Linked DNA regions of Homo sapiens: region 2 is linked to region 1. Evidence: promoter capture Hi-C in human tissues and cell types (Jung and others, 2019). All regions are on one chromosome and are shown on one strand. The core of a region is centred on a gene start or on the middle of the fragment in contact, and the rest is flanking DNA. Distances in the headings are between cores, read along the strand shown.

Region 1 (2,899 bases), core at 71-2,570:
AGAGAATCCCTGGGGATGGGGGAGGCATTGTCAACATTCCAATGCAGCATCAGCTAATTCAGATGCAACAAAGACTCTATCAATGCAGAAACGTGCAAAGAGCTTTCGGGAAAGTACAGCTCATTCAACATCGGAGAATTCACAATGGAGGAAAATCATATGTGCGTAATGGATGTAAAAATGCTTTGAGATGGTGCCCAGAGCTAATCAGACATCTGGGATTTTGTAGCAGAGAGAGGCCTTGTGAGTATAATGGATGAGGAAGAACCTTCAATCAGAGTTCCATACTTAGACAATATCAGCTAATTCAGTTGGGACTTAAAATGGTCATACGTAATGAAGACGGAAAACTCGGGGAAGCGTGGAGAATACGGAATGTGAGATCATCCACACTGGAGAGAAGCCTCGGGAGTATAATTAGTGTGGAAAATCACTTGGGGACAAGCTTAGCTTTTTCATCATTGGAGAATTCACACAAAAAAAGGAATGAGCTTGGACAGATCGTGGGAGAACTTTCAGGCACTAATCAGGCCAATTCATCCCCGAGAAAAACCTTGATGACGAAGAAGGGGAAAAAGTCTTCCAGTTTTTTTCCTTATTGGATTTCACAGAATCCTCAGTGATATATAGAGAAACTTGCTGGAGGAGTTCAGGGTTTATTAATATTCACATTAAAGCATTAATCCCATTAAAGTAGGGGTTTAAACTTTTTTACTTCTTTCACCCCAATCAAAGCTTTCATTCCTTACATCTCTATTGAGTGAATGAAGCAACAGGCAAACATCAATGGTGCATTGGCTTTGCCCTTCAAAACGTCATACAAGCCGGGTGTGGTGGCTCATGCCTGTAATTCCAGCACTTTGGGAGGCTGAAGCGGGTGGATCACGAGGTCAGGAGCTCGAGACCAGCCTGGCCAACATAGTGAAACCCTGTCTCTACTAAAAATACAAAAATTAGCCGGGCATGGTGGCACATGCCTATAGTCCCAGCTACTCAGGAGGCTGAGGCAGGAAAATCTCTTGAACCCAGGAGGCGGAGGTTGTGGTGAGCCGAGATCATGCCTCTGCACTCCAGCCTGGGCAACAGAGCGAGACTCCATCTCAAAAAAAAAAAACAAAAAAACAAAAAATCATACAATATGTGGGGTGCAGGACAGTATTGAGAGGTGCTGGGTTTGGTGCCAGAATCTGGCAGTTGCAAATTCTAATATCATCGCAACACACGCGTGGGTGGGCCCCATATATCTGATGAACTTCCAGGGGCCACATCTCTACAAATGCTGAAGATTATTTGGAGATGGGAAAATGGGGCTGGGGGTGCTTTTTCTCCAGGTCTGAGAAAAATGAAGTAATGTGTATTTCTTTCTTTCTTTTTTTTTTTTTGAGACAGAGTCTTGCTCTGTCACCCAGGCTGGAGTGCAGTAGCACGATCTTGGCTCACCGCAAGCTCCACCTCCCGGGTTCACGCCATTCTCCTGCCTCAGCCTCCCCAGTAGCTGGGACTACAGGCGCCCGCCACCACGCTCAGCTAATTTTTTGTATTTTTAGTAGAGACAGCGTTTCACCGTGTTAGCCAGGATGGTCTTGATCTCCTGACCTCGTGATCCGCCCACGTAGGCCTCCCAAAGTGCTGGGATTACAGGCGTGAGCCACCGCGCCTGGCCAGTAATGTGTATTTCAAAGATACATTAGGAGGATGCCAGTTTATCTTTGTTTTATATTTTCAAAAACAGAGATTTAAAGAGGACGGGCTAGAGCTCTTGCATTCAGCTTCTCATTTCATAAGGGAAGAATCAGGCATATGTCTTGTGTTGAAGCAACACACACACACACACACACACACACACACACACACACACACAACGCGTTGTTTGGCGAAAGTCGGACCAGAAGAAAGCTTTCTCTAATCCTCATCAACTGATTGCTTCTCTCCTACCAGCCTCGTTCCTTGTCCTTGGACCAGCATTCTAAGTCTTCCAAAATACATTCTTGCCTCTCCCTACAGTAACTCTCCCATTGAGTTCTTAATAGAGGTGAGTTAGGTTTTGCAGATTTCTGGCTCCTCGCTCTGCTTAGAGAAGCCAGAAAGAGGCCGGGCACGGTGGCTGATGCCTGAAATCCCAGCATTTTGGGAGGCTGAGGCAGGTGGATCACGAGGTTAGGAGTTCAAGACCAGCCTGACCAACATGGTGAAACTCCGTCTCTACTAAAAATACAAAAATTAGCTGGGTGTGATGGTGCATGCCTGTAATTCCAGCTGCTCAGGAGACTGAGGCAGGAGAATCACTTGAACCCGGGAGGCGGAGGTTGCAGTAAGCCAAGATTGTGCCATTGCACTCCAGCCTAGGCGACAGTGAGACAAAAAAAAAAAAAAAAAAAAAAAAAAAAAAAAAGAAGATGTCTGGAACTTTCCCAGATATCTCTTTCTTTCCTTGTCTGTGTCCCCTAGGCCTTGGGGTTAGGACTCAGAGCTGGGATTCCTCTGTAGGCAAGGACCAATCCTGATTCTTATTCCTTCCATATAAGCAATAATTCCATTTCTAATGTCTAAACTTAGGTTGATTTTCCACTGGGAGTTATAGCAAGAGCCACGGGTTTCTGAGAAGGGGTGAGGGATGCTTTAGGCTGCAATAGCAGAAATCTGCCTAGAAAATAAAGACACGTGACTTACAGATCAGAGACTGGAAGTGGGGGGTCCAGGATAGGTATGGTGGCTCAACGCTCTCATAGAGGACGTAGGCTCTGCCATCCTTAGTGTGTGGGCTTTTCCCCTTGGTCTTGTTGCCTCATGGTCTCAAGATGGTCCAGATCCCAGCCATCTCCCCATACTTTTGTTGTTGTTGTTGTTGTTGAGACAAAGTCTCACTCTATTGCCCAGGCTGGAATGTAGTGGCGTGATC
Region 2 (2,875 bases), core at 165-2,664, 150 kb before region 1:
ACTCGCATTACCACCAGAGCTCCACTCCCTGTCAGATCAGCGGCGGCATTAGATTCTCATAGGAGCTCGAACCCTATTCTAAACTGTTCATGTGAGGGATCTAGGTTGCAAGCTCCCTATGAGAATCTAATGCCTGATGATCTGTCACGGTCTCCCATCACCCCTAGATGGGACCATCTAGTTGCAGGAAAACAAGCTCAGGGCTCCCACTGATTCTACACGATGGTGAATTGTGGAATTATTTCATTATATATATTACAATGTAATAATAATAGAAATAAAGCACACAATAAATGTAATGTGCTTGAATCATCCCGAAACCATCCCACCCTGGTCTGTGAAAAAATTGTCTTCCATGAAACCAGTCCCTGGTGCCAAAAACGTTGAGGACCACTGCTCCACAGAATCTATCGGTCACTCTTCCTCCCCTCACCCCCTTGCCCTAAAAGCACACCCTGCAAACCTGCCATGAATTGACACTCTGTTTCTATCCCTTTTCCCCTTGTGTCTGTGTCTGGAGGAAGAGGATAAAGGACAAGCTGCCCCAAGTCCTAGCGGGCAGCTCGAAGAAGTGAAACTTACACGTTGGTCTCCTGTTTCCTTACCAAGCTTTTACCATGGTAACCCCTGGTCCCGTTCAGCCACCACCACCCCACCCAGCACACCTCCAACCTCAGCCAGACAAGGTTGTTGACACAAGAGAGCCCTCAGGGGCACAGAGAGAGTCTGGACACGTGGGGAGTCAGCCGTGTATCATCGGAGGCGGCCGGGCACATGGCAGGGATGAGGGAAAGACCAAGAGTCCTCTGTTGGGCCCAAGTCCTAGACAGACAAAACCTAGACAATCACGTGGCTGGCTGCATGCCCTGTGGCTGTTGGGCTGGGCCCAGGAGGAGGGAGGGGCGCTCTTTCCTGGAGGTGGTCCAGAGCACCGGGTGGACAGCCCTGGGGGAAAACTTCCACGTTTTGATGGAGGTTATCTTTGATAACTCCACAGTGACCTGGTTCGCCAAAGGAAAAGCAGGCAACGTGAGCTGTTTTTTTTTTCTCCAAGCTGAACACTAGGGGTCCTAGGCTTTTTGGGTCACCCGGCATGGCAGACAGTCAACCTGGCAGGACATCCGGGAGAGACAGACACAGGCAGAGGGCAGAAAGGTCAAGGGAGGTTCTCAGGCCAAGGCTATTGGGGTTTGCTCAATTGTTCCTGAATGCTCTTACACACGTACACACACAGAGCAGCACACACACACACACACACATGCCTCAGCAAGTCCCAGAGAGGGAGGTGTCGAGGGGGACCCGCTGGCTGTTCAGACGGACTCCCAGAGCCAGTGAGTGGGTGGGGCTGGAACATGAGTTCATCTATTTCCTGCCCACATCTGGTATAAAAGGAGGCAGTGGCCCACAGAGGAGCACAGCTGTGTTTGGCTGCAGGGCCAAGAGCGCTGTCAAGAAGACCCACACGCCCCCCTCCAGCAGCTGAATTCCTGCAGCTCAGCAGCCGCCGCCAGAGCAGGACGAACCGCCAATCGCAAGGCACCTCTGAGAACTTCAGGTAGGAGAAAAGCAAACTCCCTCCAACCTCTTACTTCGGGCTTAAGGCAGAGAACTCGCCTCCCCAGAATCTCCTCCCTCCATGATCCCCCGCTATTCCTCTATTTTCTTTTCCTCGGACCTGCAGCCTTGGGTCGACCCTGCCCTAGGGGTGACTGCAGGAGAGCAGGGAGGATGGTCAGGCGTCACCAACAACCCCATCACCCAGTAACAAGAACCTTGACTCTCTCAGTCCCTCTGCATCAAGACACTTACCCATTTCCCACCTCATGCCTGCTAACTTGAATGAAACAATCGCTGGGAAAGCATTAAGAGAATTAAGGCTGGGCACTGTGGCTCATGCCTGTAATCCCAGCACTTTGTGAGGCTGAGGCAGGCAGATAACTTGAGCCCAGGAGTTTGAGACCAGCCTGGGCAACATGGCAAAACCCTGCTCTCCCAAAAAAATACAAAAATTAGCTGGGCGTGCTGGTGTGCCTGTATTCCCAGCTACTTGGGAGGCTGAGGTGGGAGGATTGCTTCAGCTGGGGAGGCGGAGGCTGCAGGGAGCCAAGACTGAGCCATTGCACCCAGCCTGGGTGACAGAGCAAGACCCTGTCTCTAAAAATGAATGAAAGGAAGGAAGAAAGAGAGAGAAAGAGAGAGAGGAAAGAAGGAAGGAAGTAAAGAAGAAAGAAAGAAAGAAAGAGGAAAGAGGAAGAAAGAAAGAAAAGAAAGAAAAGAAAAGAAAGCAAATTTAAAGCTTATGCAAATCAAAGATGTTGTGATAATTGATAATTGAGTCTGGGCTAAATTCCCCCTGGGCTGCAAAGGCAGAGAGTGGTAATGACTTCTCACCTGCTTTTCTTCTAAGGCTTTTTTACGGGACACAGAGGGAAGGGAGATGGACTGGATTCCAAGATTCCCACAGGGCAAGATGGGCGAAGACTCCCTGCCACTGCCCGGGGATAAGTCAGTCTGAGTGAGACGGAGTGGGATGGGCTTAGAACCTGAACATGTCATGGTCTCTTCCTGCACCTTGCCCTAGTGTTCACTTACCACCTGCTTGCAGGAAACAAGAAGAGCAGGGCCCACAGCTGGCCAGCTCCCCTCCCCTCCCGCCTGTCTTCCAGAACGATTCCTTCACCAGCCCTCTTTCCATTGCTCTAGGATGCAGATGTCTCCAGCCCTCACCTGCCTAGTCCTGGGCCTGGCCCTTGTCTTTGGTGAAGGGTCTGCTGTGCACCATCCCCCATCCTACGTGGCCCACCTGGCCTCAGACTTCGGGGTGAGGGTGTTTCAGCAGGTGGCGCAGGCCTCCAAGGACCGCAACGTGGTTTTC

Evidence for each region. The method cuts DNA at HindIII sites, captures the fragments that hold promoters and counts their contacts. A contact is called where the count stands out against the background at its distance.
Region 2: the fragment with the promoter of SERPINE1 here is called in contact with a fragment that was not itself captured in region 1 in 7 of the 25 tissues and cell types used here (H1 embryonic stem cells, aorta, bladder and 4 more).

The regions. Positions count from the first base shown.
Region 1 is chr7:101,273,278-101,276,176 of GRCh38, forward strand. No RefSeq gene overlaps it. Among named protein-coding and RNA genes, the nearest start is that of LNCPRESS1, 25 kb to the right of the region's middle. The HindIII fragment of the contact is 4,444 bases long and covers 1-2,899 here.
Region 2 is chr7:101,125,690-101,128,564 of GRCh38, forward strand. SERPINE1 (serpin family E member 1) reads left to right here and starts at 1,415. Exons shown (of 9, transcript NM_000602.5): 1 at 1,415-1,555; 2 at 2,704-2,875. The coding sequence starts at 2,705. RefSeq lists enhancers at 291-1,070, 1,851-2,630, 2,631-2,875. The HindIII fragment of the contact is 16,005 bases long and covers 1-2,875 here.